Regions from separate parts of the Homo sapiens genome. Here regions 1 and 2 are each linked to region 3. Evidence: promoter capture Hi-C in 16 types of primary human blood cells and fetal thymus (Javierre and others, 2016). All regions are on one chromosome and are shown on one strand. The core of a region is centred on a gene start or on the middle of the fragment in contact, and the rest is flanking DNA. Distances in the headings are between cores, read along the strand shown.

Region 1 (4,336 bases), core at 70-2,569, 150 kb before region 3:
CATATTCTGCCCCAAATAGTATGCGCTCTTTGGAAACATTCCAGTTCACAGAAGGATTTTTACCAGTGAGTCAAATGTCTAATTCCCTCAGTGCTAGACACAGTATTTATCATTATAATATGAAAATAAGTCTATAAACATATAGATGCATATGCAAGCATATAAGTATCTATGCATACTGTTACTTAAACCTGTTTTGGAACATAAAGTAAAAGGGGCCAAGCACATCACAAAATAACAAGTGCTTATTAAAGAGTTCACTATGTATTTCCTCAAAAAGCCCATTAACAACACAGCAGGAGAATATTTCAACACCAAGTTTCAGAAATTCAGAAGGGGGAAGATACCCTTCTTTTCCTGTGATTCATTAATGAGACAATCAGTGCTGAAAACATGCCTTTTGCTGCCATCAAGTGGCTCTTTTCAGAATATTCTGATCAACGTCATGGTGTGCTAGCACTGCTTCCCCCACCACTTCCTTCCTTGTACATTATACATTATCATCCTTTGGGGAACAGGAATATTTGAAAAGACCAAGCAAGCCTTTCCTAAATTAGGGCTTTATACTATGGATGCTATAAAAATTACATTACTAAGAAATTATTCAGAAAGACAACTTCAAAAAGTGTTTGAAGTACCCAAAACTGAAAAATCCTTCCCAGCCCTGGGTGACCTTTTCAGTTTCTAGTCAGTAAAGATTTTGACCTGAACTTGGGAGCATGCCTCTCTTTATTAATACCAAATAAATAATTTCTAAATAGACTGGTTCAGGGTACATAGTTGAAAAGAGAGGAAATTAGAAAATGTATTTGGAATAATTTTTAATCAAGTCAAATCCCATTACTATGGAAGAAAATAGTTTTCTATTGATGTCTCATTTTCTCAAGCCTTCATTCCTATATATAAATAATGCAGCATATTGTATAGTCACTGCAAAAGTTCAACTGTGATTACTATAGAATTCTCATTTTAATATAGTTGGTTGCCTAGCTCCTTTTTCTTTGAATATCTTGCCTTTTTTATAGCTTTTTCTTTTTTTAAGTTCTGGGGTACATGTGCAGGATGAGTAGGTTTGTTTCATAGGTAAATGTATGCCATGGTGGTTTGCTGCACCTATCAACCCATCAGCTAGGTATTAAGCCCAGCGTGCATCAGCTCTTTTCTCTAATGCTCTCCCACTCCCACTCTTCCCCAACAGGCCCCAGTGTCTGTTGTTCCCCTCCCTGTGTCCATGTGTTCTCATTGTTCAACTCCCACTTATAAGTGAGAATATGCAATGTTTGGTTTTCTGTTCCTGCATTAGTTTGCTGAGGATGATGGCTTCCATCTTCATCCATGTCCCTACAAAGGACATGATCTCGTTCTTTTTTATGTCTGCATACTATTCCATGGTGTGTATGTACCACATTTTCTTTATCCATTCTATCACTGATGGGTATTTGGGTTGATTCCATGTCTTTGCTATGGTAAATAGTGCTGCAATGAACATAGGTGTGCATGTGCCTTTATAATAGAATGATTTATAAATCCTTTGGGTATATACCCAGTAATGGGATTGCTGGGTCGAATGGTATTTCTGGTTCTAAATCTTTGAGGAATCACCACACTGTCTTCCACAATGGTTGAACTAATTTACATTACCAACAGTGTAAAAGTGTTTCTATTTCTCTACAACCTCACCAGCATCTGTTGTTTCCTGACTTTTTAATAACTGCCATTCTGACTGGCATGAGATGGTATCTCATTGTGGTTTTGATTTGCGTTTCTCTAATGATCAGTAACATTGAGCTCTTTTTCATGTGTTTGTTGGTTGCATGTACGTCTTTTTTTTTTTTTTTTTTTTTGAGAAGTGTCTGTTTATATCCTTTGCCCACTTTTTAACAGGGTTGTGTTTTTACCTTGTAAATTTGCTTAAGTTCCTTATAGATTCTGGATATTAGACCTTAGTCAGATGGATAGATTGCAAAGATTTTCTCCCATTCCATAAGTTGTCTGTTCACTCTGATGATAGTTTCATTCACTGTGCAGAAGCTCTTTAGTTTAATTAGACGCCATTTGTCAATTTTTGCTTTTGTTGCAATTGCTTTCGGCAATTTCATCATAAAGTCTTTGCCCATGCCTATGTCCTGAATGGTATTGCCTAGATTGTCTTCTAGGGTTTTTATAGTTTTGGGTTTTACATTTAAGGCTTTAATCCATCTTGAGATAATTTTTGTATAAGGTGTAAGGAAGAGATCCAGTTTCAATTTTCTGCATATAGCTACCAAGTTCTCCCAGCACCATTTATTAAATAGGAAATCCTTTCCCCATTGCTTGTTTTTGTCATGTTTGTTGAAGATCAGATGGTTGTAGATGTGCGAGTTTATTTCTGAGTTCTCTATTCTGTTCCAATGGTCTACGTGCCTATTTTCGTACCAGTACCATGCTGTTTTGATTACTGTGGTGTTGTAGTAAGTTTAAAGGCATCATAGCATGATACCTCCAGCTTTGTTCTTCTTGCTTACAACTGTCACTTTAGCTATGCGAGCTCTTTTTTGGTTCCATATGAATTTTAAAATAGATTTTTCTAATTCTGTGAAGAATGTCAACGGTAGTTTAATGGGAATAGCATTAAATCTATAAATTGCTTTGGGCAGTATGGCCATTTTCATGACATTGATTCTTCCTATCCATGACCGTGGAATGTTTTTCCATCTGCCTGTGTCCTTTCTGATTTCCTTGACCGGTCTGTAGTTTTCCTTAAAGAGGTCCTTCACTTCCCTTGTTAGCTGTATTCCAAGATATTTTATTCATTTGTGGCAATTGTGAATGCGAGTTCATTCATGATTTGGGTTTCTGCTTGTCTGCAGTAGATGTATGGGAATGCTTGTGATTTCTGCAAATTAACTTTGTATCCTGATACTTCACTAAAGTTGTTTATCAGCTTAAGAAGCTTTTGAGCTGAGATGATAGGGTTTCTACATATAGGATAATGTCATCTGCAAACAAAGACAAATTGACTTCCGCTCTTCTTACCTGAATACCCTTTCTTTCTTTCTCTTGCTTGATTGCCCTGGCCAGAACTTCCAACACCATGTTGAATAGGAGTAGTGAGACAGGGCATCCTTGTTTTGTGCCAGTTTTCAAGTGCAATGCCTCCAGTTTTTGCCCATTCGGTATGTTATTGATATGTTATTGACTGTTTTTTGTCATAAATGGCTCCTATTATTTTGAGGCATGTTCCTTCAACACCTAGTTTATTGAGTTTTTAACATGAAGCGGTGTTGAATTTTATCAAAAGCCTTTTCTGTGTCTATTGAGATAATTATGTGGTTTTTGTCTTTAGTTCTGCTTATGTGGTGAATTGCATTATTGATTTACGTATGTTGAACCAGCCTTGCATCCTGGGGACGAAGCCAACTTGATCGTGGTGGATAAGCTTTTTGATGTGCTGCTGGATTCAGTCTGCTGCCAATATTTTATTGTGAATTTTTGCATGAATGTTCATCAGGGATATTGGCCTGAAGTTTTCTTTTTTTGTTGTATCTCTGCCAGGTTTTTGTATCAGGATGATGCTGGCCTCATAAAGTGAGTTATGGAGGATTCCCTCCTTTTCAATTGTTTGGAATAGTTTCAGAAGAAATGGTACCAGCTCCTCTTTGTACCTCTGGTAGAATTCTGGACCTGGGCTTTTTTTGGTTGGTAGGCTATTTATTACTCCCTCAATTTCAGAACTTATTATTGCTCTATTCAGGGATTCAACTTCTTCTGGGTTCAGTCTTAGGAGGGTTTATGGGTCCAGGAATTTATCCATTTCTTCTAGATTTTCCAGTTTATGTGCATAGAGTTGCTTATAGTATTCTCTGAGGGTTGTCTGTATTTCTGTGGGGTCAGTGGTGGTATCCGCCTTATCATTTCTGATTGTGTTTATTTGAGTCTTCTCTTCTTCTTTATTAGTCTCACTAGCAATCTACTTTATTGATTTTTTTTCAAAAAACCAGCTCCTGGATTCATTGATTTTTTGAAGGGTTTTTCATATCTCTATCTCCTTCAGTTCCACTCTGAGCTTGTTTATTTCCTGTCTTCTGCTAACTATGAGATTTGTTTCCTCTTGGTTCTCTAGTTCTTTTAGTTGTGATGTTAGGGTGTCAATTTGAGATCTTTCTAGCTTTTTCATGTGGGCATTTAGTGCTATACATTTCTCTTAATACTGCTTTAGCTGCATCCCAGAAATTCTGATACATTGTTTCTTTGCTCTTTTTGGTTTCAAACAACTTCTTGATTTCTGCCTTAATTTCATTATTTACCCAGAAGTCATTCAGGAACAGGTTGTTCAATTTCCATGTAGTTGTGTGGT
Region 2 (4,676 bases), core at 505-3,004, 130 kb before region 3:
AACATGACTATTTTAATCACAGATATATGAATATTTGTAAATCTGAGTGTGTATTTATGTTATTAATAAGATCCATCTTGGAGTATATAGACTGTTACCTTCAATACAGTCAAAGAAATTAGAAAATACAGCTTAGAACAATCAAAAGCATTAAAGTGGGACACAAACCTGTATATGTGAAGGAGAGGGTGGGAGGGCACAGGGATTGATGATTATGAATGTTGGCTAAAGTCAGGTGAAATGGCCTAGAACTTCAGAATTTTTTCTGGAAATACAGTAGGTTTAGGATCACTAAGATGTCATAAAATTCTAACAAGATTAATGATATAAAAGCATATTTAAAAGTATATATTATGGGCCAGGTGCAGTGGCTCATGCCTGTAATCCCAGCACTTTGGGAGGCCGAGGCAGGCGGATCACCTGAGGTCAGGAGTTCGAGACCAGCCTGGCTAACATGGTGAAACCCGGTTTCTACTAAAAATACAAAAATATTAGCCAGGCGTGGTGGTGCACGCCTGTAATCCTAGCTACTTGGGAGGCTGAGGCAGGAGAATCACTTGAACCCGGGAGTTGGAGGTTGCAGTGAGCCAAGATCACACCATTGCACTCCAGCTTGCACAACAAGAGCAAAACTCCATCTCAAAAAAAAAAAGTGTATATAAAATGAGCAAACATATGTTGTGGAAAATAGAGGTAGACAACTGTGACAGGGAGAATTATGGAGAAACTACTTGGTTTCTTGGCCTTTTTGCTGCTGTGTTCTCTTCACCAAAAGAATGGAAAGAAGAATTTCCTTTCTACCTCACTGCTAGACTTTTTAAATTGAGAGTTCTAGGTCCCTTTTCTTTAGGAGTGATTTTCACATGGAGCCTGTGCAAAGAAATACACTAAAGAGTCTCAGAGGAGAAGGAGAAGTGTTTGTGTTTCTAGGTAGGAGATGTGGGGAGCCCTACCTCTGGAAGGTTGTTAAAGCAGGGATCAGATAGACCGAGGGCTTCTGGGTTCATAAAGAATACAAGCATTTAGGTCTCCAAGGTGGCAGAGCCTCATTTGGGGATGACTACATGAATGTTGGTCAAGGCCAAGGTATCAAGGGTCATGTTGATACCCAAATCTCACCTTGAATTGTAATAATTCCCAAGTGTTGTAGGAGGGTCCTGGTGAGAGGTAACTGAATCATGGAGGCGAATCTTTCCTGTGCTGTTCTTGTGGTAGTGAATAAGTCTCATGAGAGCTGACGGTTTTATTAATGGGAGTTCCTCTACACAAGCTCTCTCTTGCCTGCTGCCATGCAAGATGTGATTTTGCTCCTCCTTTGCCTTCTGCCATGATTGTGAGGCCTTCCCAGCCATGTGGAATTAAGAGTCGATTAAATCTCTTTCCTTTATAAATTACCCAGTCTTAGGTATATCTTTATTAGCAGAATGAGAACAGACTAATACACATGGCTTTGGAAGTCTGAGTTATCAAACTAAGCTAGTCCCAGGGGAATGGTGCCAGTTAGGGCAGCCACCCACCTCTATTAGGTGCACAATGACCTGAGTAGATCCCAGGCACCTTAGTCTGAGTCATTGTGCCAAAGTGGTAGAAGACCATTACTGAAGTGGCAGTAGGAGAAGGGATGCAGAAGTAAAAACAAGCTAAAGGAGTCTTTTCAGTAACTGTAGCCCTGGAACTCCTATAAAACCTTAGTGATAGAAAAGGTGATGTGAAATATTATTAATATTGTACTCTCTGCTTACCTTGGTAAGCAAAAACTCAGAGTAAGATTTAATTTAGAGGAAAAAGTATGGCATTACACATAAGACCCTGACTAGGAAATATAAAAGGACAAATGAAGGGATTCATTCCTCAAGAGGACTCCAAACTGAAATTAACACTACTGTCCATTAAGTCTTCTGCTCTAAAACCTATATATGATTTGGCCAACCTATATATGATTTGGCCCACCCATATATACAAGAAACAAATAGAATCTGCAGCTACTTAAAGGAGTATATTTGGTTTGTTGGAGTCAAAAGATATAATAGTCAAAAAATCAGCATAGCAGGCATTCCACATACCAGTAATATTCCTGTTGCAAATAACAAAAGCGAAAACAAAAACTAAATTTAAACTAGATTAAATTATAAGGATTCTTTATTGGCTTCCTTCTCACATTTTCTTTTCTTTTTTTATTTTTTATTTTTTTTTTTATTTTGAGACGGAGTCTCACTCTGTCACCCTGACTGGAGTGCAATGGAGCAATCTCGGCTCACTGCAACCTCCACCGCCTGGGCTCAAGTGATTCTCCCGCCTCAGCCTCCCGAGTAGCTGGGATTACAGGCACACGCCACCGTGCCTGGCTAATTTTTGTATTTTTTAGTAGAAATGGGGTTTCACCATGCTGGCCAGGCTGGTCTGGAACTCCTGACCTCAGCTATCCATCCACCTTGGCCTTCCAAAGTGCTGGGATTACAGGCATGAGCCACCATGCCCGGCCCTTCTCACATTTTCCATCTTTTTTTCTCATGTCTGTTCTCTAAACAAAATTTTTGTAGAACTAGTTTAACTAAAGGCATAGAATGACTTCAAGCAAAGCCTGATCCAGCACTCAGATAATATTATCAAGACTTGATTAATCTCTATTTCCCAGCTCCATTTCCTCAGTGTGGCGTCTTATCCTAGCAGGCTCCCACTACTTTCTCCCCCAAGACACATGCACACACCCTTTGTTGTCCCAAGATGACCATAACAACCTGAGGGCTGCTTCTTCATTGTTGTCCATGGATGAAAAGATAACGCTTTTGCCCTAGCACTTCTAGAGAAAATTATGAGATTCATTCTATTCGGGCTCATTTGGGTCCTGAAGCAATTACCCTAGCCAGAGTTATGAAGAGCAATTTAACTAAGCCTTAGGATTAGCTAATATATATATTAAATATAATAAATATATAATATAATATATAATATATAATAATATATAATATAGCCTTGTTGCCCCCAGCCAGACCACTAGGTGGCCCATTACCTCAAACCATCACAACTAGATATGCTGTCCTGCATACCCCAGCCCTCACATGCTCTACCCAGCCCAGCCTGCACACCCTCCCCCTGATGTCAGTTCCTGCACATTGCCTAATAAAAAATCCCTACGGGCTCTTTTCAGGGAGCCAGACAGAGAATTCTTTTACCTCCACTGTCTCCCTTGAGCTTGAGCACAAGCCGCAAAATAAAGCCTTGTCTGGCTAATCTACTTGGCCTTATGTAAATTTCTATTACACGGGAGCCTAAAAGCCTGTGGTCTATAACACTGAGACCCAAAGATATGTATACTTTTTGTCTACTATATGTGTGCTACACCTGTCTATAAACTGTAGCACAGTAGAGACCAGATTGATCTTCTTTACCACTATGTCCTCATGGCATAGTACCTGGCACACAGTATGTCTTAAGTTATTTGTCCAGTGGATTTTAAAAAAAAAGGCTATACAAATAAATGAACAAATAATATTCCACTGTATGGAATCCTATCTTTCTACATCTAGGTCCTATTATAGTTGCCCTCTGAGCCGTTCAGTTCTTTAAGCTGCTCTCCTCCCCAACTTTCTCCCCATCTATAAGCCACCTCCTAAATTCTGTTCCCTCCTATTTGGCGAGAAGCTCCTGCTTCCTTATCAGCCTTTTCATCAACACCACATACATTTCTGTATACCCTATATTTGTCTTACACATCCCCAGCAAACACCCAACTCTGATGTACAGCTACAGTTCGTTTTCTCCAATTTTGACTACTGTGGAAAAAAGTTGCACAACACAGTTGAGAAGCCACTACACAATCATGATCCAGAGTTTAGTTGCTATCACAGCACTGCACATTAATGCATCAATGCCTTTCCCTATCCTTGTCAATTCTCTTTCCTGTTCTCCTTAATATCTATTTCAAATTTCATCTCAAAGCTCCCACTAAGCCCTTTTCACTCTTAGAATATGACTTTGGTCTCAACCTCAAGAAGACATCCTTGTCATCAAACATTATTTTCCCTCAACTTCCTACCTGCTCACATTCATCTACTTATCTACCTTCATGACTATCCTAACTTCCTTCCCTTATTCCTCAAAGGATGGAGCACTCCTCCCAAAGAAGACCCTACCTGTGCCTTTTTAAAACCACACCCCCTCCTCTCTTGGGGGACTTGGTCCAGCCATCCTTTCACTCCTTTGTATATCTGATCTCTCCCTCTCTCCTCATTCTTTTTTCTCCACCTCTGAGGCCTCTTAAGTTGATCCTAAAAACAATGTCCTTGAACTTCCACCCATTCTCCTTGTTTTCTCATCTAGACTTCAAGAAAGAGTAATCTTTATCACACCCACTTACCGAGATCTTACTTGCCATGCAAACATTCCACTGAAGTTGTTCTGGCAAATGCATTGACCTCCACCACTCCCAAATCCGGAATAAATATATTGGTCTTTAACTGGCAAGACATCCTGGCTGCATCTGACCTAACAGTTGTTCTCCGTCTCTTTTGATACTACTTCCTTGGGTTCCCTAACACCAAATATGCCATTCTTTTTCTATTTTCCTGATTTTTCTCAGTCACCATTTTGGGCATCCCTTCTTCCAATTACCCCATAAATAATGATGTGCCATGGTCTGTCCTCAGTCCTTGTCTTCATCATATCACTATATGATC
Region 3 (4,629 bases), core at 503-3,002:
GACTTCCCAACTCTGTGGTTCAATTTCCAAACCTCTTAAAGTTAAAAAACAAAACCTGCTATTTTTTTCAGCTCGTCACACAGGATGTTGGTACTCAAAATAAGTCTATTATATATTATTTGTAAACTGTAAACTACCATACAAATCTAAGGTATTATTCTCATGACAGCTCTGGCAAATGTTCACTAAATGGAGACACAATAGATGAAGAAAAGTGGGAAAATATTTGTGGCTAGAGCAGAGCAAGGTACCCAAGACGCTTGCAGCTTTTAAGTCAAACTATTGTACTGGCAGTAAATAAGCACTTTCTGGTGGCTGTCAGGGTGGTCCCAACCTAACTAGACATTCCTCTTCTTCAGGACTGAGAATACAGTGGCCTTTCCCAAGCACGAATATGGAAGGATTATATTTTGCTCAACTATACTTTTGAGCAACGCCAACTTCCTTAAGCAATTTCCCCGAAGCACTAGGACATGAATCAGTCAAAATACTGCAAGTCAACTCTGCAATTTTCTCTCTGCTCAGCAATGTAGTCAAAAACTGGTAAATCAGGGTGAACCATTGTGTCAGGAAGAATTTGATTAGAATGAAACTCCTCCCTACATTTCTTAAATCCATACAAGTCATAAAACTCAGATTTAGTTTATTCCTGAATATGAGAATATGTCTGAAAAACAGAGCTCAGATAACAGGCAATAGAACATAACCTTGTTTGCTGTGATTCTTGTAAAGAAAAACAATTGCAGGCCTGTTCATCACTCATGAAAAATACATCGTATAGTACTGGAACAGTGATTAACTTGCACTTATATTATTGACCTGAATAAATTATTTCTTCATTAGCAGATTATAATTTTGTGTATGTGTCACTTCAAGGCCCTAAAAATAAGAACTAGCTTCCCACCTAGTAGCAGTAGAGAAGCAGTACCAAAAAAAAACCAAACCCCCCACAAAACTAACATTACCTTTCAGGAAGGAACTACATGTTTGTAAAAGCAGGAAAGGAAAAGATTTTTAAGTAATATCTGCTGCTACCTTACAAATCTGTCCAAGTGAATTTTGAATAATTACTGGATTAAATAATAAACTGCCAACCTAAAGCAGAGCAGGATTTGCAATGGTATAATCGACCACAGAGGGATACTCAAATCAGCTAATCTCTTAGTGGCTGTCTCTTTCCGGAGTGAAGAGAAAGATACACTGAGTCTCTAAATGTGTCCAGCTGAAAAGAAAAGTTAACAGTCTGAGATTAACTTAATTTAAAATCGTGGAAAAATTTGATGAGAGGCAGTCTATATTAATTCTTTCAAAACAATGGAGCAAGGAGAAGGCTTTTCTACACTAAACGGTATCGATTATAGGAAGAGTAAACCAAGAAAAATAATGTGCACATCTTTTTTAAGCTGGAAAATGCCTATTTGGTAAAATGATCACTTCCGTTTTTGAGCACCCCTTTGCTGAGGCAGCGAATGGCGGCGTCGGCGGGGTTGTCAGAGAGCAGACGTCGGAGCACTGAGCAGTCTAGATTCTGCGGCATGTCCCCCCCGGAAGAAGCGGGAGAGGCGGCGGCAAGAGCAGAAGCAGGACCCCAAGCAGAGAACTAGGATAGCGAGGCCGGGGGCTGGACCGCAGCCCGGCGGCCAGGAAGGGCGGCGGGGCGGCGGGGACGCTCGGGCACTCAGTCAACCTCACGGGGCGGGGCGGCCGCGGGTCGCGGGCGGATGACGCGCCGGGGCCGGCGGAGGAGCAGCCACTTCCTGGGGCCGCCGGCCGGGGCCGCTGGCTGCACTCAGCGCCGGAGCCGGGAGCTAGCGGCCGCCGCCATGTCCCACCAGACCGGCATCCAAGGTAACAGCGCCCGGCGCGACTCGCAGGGAAGGGGCTTCCGGGAGAGCCGGGAGAGCCGGGAGGGCTGCAGGACCGGCAGGGCTGGAGTCGGGCCGGGAGCTCCGGAAGTCGGTCTCGCGGGGCGAGCCGGGCCTCGGCGCCTCTCCGCGCTCCTGCTTCCCGGGCGCTGCCGGCCTGCGTCCTCCTCCAGCCCGGTCCCTGCTGCCGTCACGTTGCAGATTGATCCGAAATTCGGGGGAGCGAAGGAAATTGGCTTTCGAGGCGGCCTGGTTGAAGGGGGCGTGCCTTCCACCGTCCCCGACAGTCGCCCAACTTTCCCCCTTTTGGTCACGTAGGGAAGAGCTGGGACAGTGGAGGCGACTGGGGCTTCAGTACGCTGTCGAGAACCAGGCGAGTTTTCTTTTTCATGGTCCAAAGGAGAATATTACAGGACTTTGATTACAAAAAGAACCATGCCAGAATCTTTCTCACATCAGTAGGGGTGCTTCCCAAAACTCTCCCGCATTTTCTCTCCAAATAGGAAAATGAGAGTTATGTTCTGAGAAATCTCGAGTGTAAGCGTGTGTTTTGATCTTTTTCCTAGATACTCCCCAAGGGAAACTGATCTGTATGGTTGCATGTAATGCGTGCAGACAGTTCAATATGCAGTTATATCTGACCTCCATTATTTCCTGGTTTGAAATTGGGCAGCCTGCAGGTACTCACCTCATCAAGAGTCAAATAATATATCCCCGGGTTACTCGCGATCACTTAACGAGTTCTAGTGTAAACTCAAGCTCTTACTGTTAATAGCGAGTCTTTCTCCCAGATGAACACTTAATTGTATGTTTTATTCGTAAAGATTTTTGACACCACCGCACACATCCCCCTGCACGCACGCAGAAGCAAAATAGTCTCAAATCTGAAAACTTTGTTTTATTTATCCGCATTAATTTCGATATATAAATATGTAGTTATTGACTCTCATGCTTGAGCCTTATAGCAAGCACTACCTACTTACATAGTGGTTCTTGCTGCTAATAGACAACACAGGAACGAAATTAGAACGAAATTGAAGCTTTAATAGGAACACAAGGGTTAGTTATTAAATACATATTTATTCAATGAGTTTAATCTAGCTTTTGAGAAATGCAAGTTAGAAAAATATAACCAGAGTTAAGACTGAATGCATTTTATTGTCTTTTTCTTTAAACAAGTTAGGATATTTGATATATACTGTTGTTTTTAACGGGAAAATACAGAAAGTGAATTGATGAAGGAGTGTCTGTCATAAGCTTGAAACTGAATTAGAGAATGAAAGCAGGTTTTCAATATTTTTCAAAAGAGCAAGAAAAGTTTTTCAAAATTGTAATTTGCTCATTATTGGGTTTGAGTAACTTCAGTATATTCACCCCAGTGTTATTTCTGCACAGAATTATGTAGCTAAAACAGATTAGAATTATTAACATACTTTTAAAATGCTAATATTTATATTTCTTAATTGTATACAGTCTTCGTTATTTTATGCGGTAAAGTTTTATAATACTGATAATAAGGATGCTACATGCTCCAGATTTTTTCTTTGTATTCTAATTAACTTTTCCAATATAGATAGGAAAGTATTTATATGTAAGTATAAAAAGTTTACTTTCTTTATCTTTTTCCACAGCAAGTGAAGATGTTAAAGAGATCTTTGCCAGAGCCAGAAATGGAAAGTACAGACTTCTGAAAATATCTATTGAAAATGGTTAGTTAAATATTTTAAAATATTTTCTGTTCCTGGATTAGTGGCTGTTGTATTTTTAAACTTACTGTGTGTTGTCAGTGATTTGAACTATTAATTAATATGAAGCAAGTTCAAATCTTACGGTAACTTGGATTCCTCATATTTTGTGCAGGTCCCTATGGGCCCCTAATTTCATTCTGAATTATGTGACTATCAGGGAAACAGAAAGATGTTTTTTGATGTGACTTCTTCCTCTTTTACTTTTTGTGTCTCAGTTTCTGCACCACAGTCCATTTCTAATGTCAGTGCTTCCATCTCTGGAATGGAAATCACTAAACAGGTGATTATCAAAAAAAAAAAATAGTTACTTGTGAATTATTCAATTAAGTTTGTTTTTAAATATAAACAAAGGATATCAAACTCCCATTTTCTCCATTTGATTGCAACCTTTGCCACAGAAATGATCATTTCCCTTTCTTGTTTTGGGAAAGTTCTGAGAATATAACAAACTACAAATTGATTCTTTAAAAATAATTCTGTAAACAGGGAATCTGGTTGAGTGGGAGAATCTTTTAAATCAGGCAGATTTGAATTTGAACAATTATTGTTATAGGTACTCAGTCATAAATGAATATATTAAAATATTCCAGTGGCCTAATTTCTTAAATATCTGAAAATATTTTGCTTTGGAAAAGTAACTTGTTCTTTCACAAACTGGAAGTAAATCTAATTTGTTTTCTATTTTCTGCTTATATAAAAAATACCAGAATAGTTTGTAAAATATGCATTTGTTTACATACAACATTCAATAGGAATATATGTATATTGTAAAACAGCATATTTTAAAAATACTGAGCTAAAATTTTTAATGCCATCACTTCCTAAGTGACTAGTTAAGGAACTAAAATGGAAAAGTTAATCTAACTAGCATCTCTACGGAAGGAAAATGGCACTACTTCCTAAGTTATTATTTTCTGGTTTTACTTTTTTGTTTTGTGAAAATTTTTAAATAAGGAAAATTCCAAAGACTAAAATTGTATCATAAATACCTATATCTCCCCTTTATTAATAACTGC

The links. Contacts are between HindIII fragments. The CHiCAGO score rates a contact against its expected background, and 5 or more counts as called.
Region 1: a contact is called between a fragment that was not itself captured here and the fragment with the promoter of TWF1 in region 3, in 1 of 17 cell types (M2 macrophages). The highest score is 5.3, in M2 macrophages.
Region 2: a contact is called between a fragment that was not itself captured here and the fragment with the promoter of TWF1 in region 3, in 1 of 17 cell types (M2 macrophages). The highest score is 5.0, in M2 macrophages.

What each region holds. Positions count from the first base shown.
Region 1 is chr12:43,954,009-43,958,344 of GRCh38, reverse strand. The region is part of intron 3 of TMEM117 (transmembrane protein 117); the gene reads right to left. Among named protein-coding and RNA genes, the nearest start is that of TMEM117, 120 kb to the right of the region's middle. The HindIII fragment of the contact is 3,231 bases long and covers 1-2,934 here.
Region 2 is chr12:43,936,524-43,941,199 of GRCh38, reverse strand. All of the region lies in intron 2 of TMEM117 (transmembrane protein 117), which reads right to left. Among named protein-coding and RNA genes, the nearest start is that of TMEM117, 100 kb to the right of the region's middle. The HindIII fragment of the contact is 8,309 bases long and covers 1-4,676 here.
Region 3 is chr12:43,803,440-43,808,068 of GRCh38, reverse strand. It overlaps TWF1 (twinfilin actin binding protein 1), which reads left to right and starts at 1,752. Exons shown (of 9, transcript NM_002822.5): 1 at 1,752-1,848; 2 at 3,497-3,574. The coding sequence starts at 1,824. It also overlaps a transcript of TMEM117 not described here. RefSeq lists a silencer at 1,577-2,056. The HindIII fragment of the contact is 5,668 bases long and covers 1-2,907 here.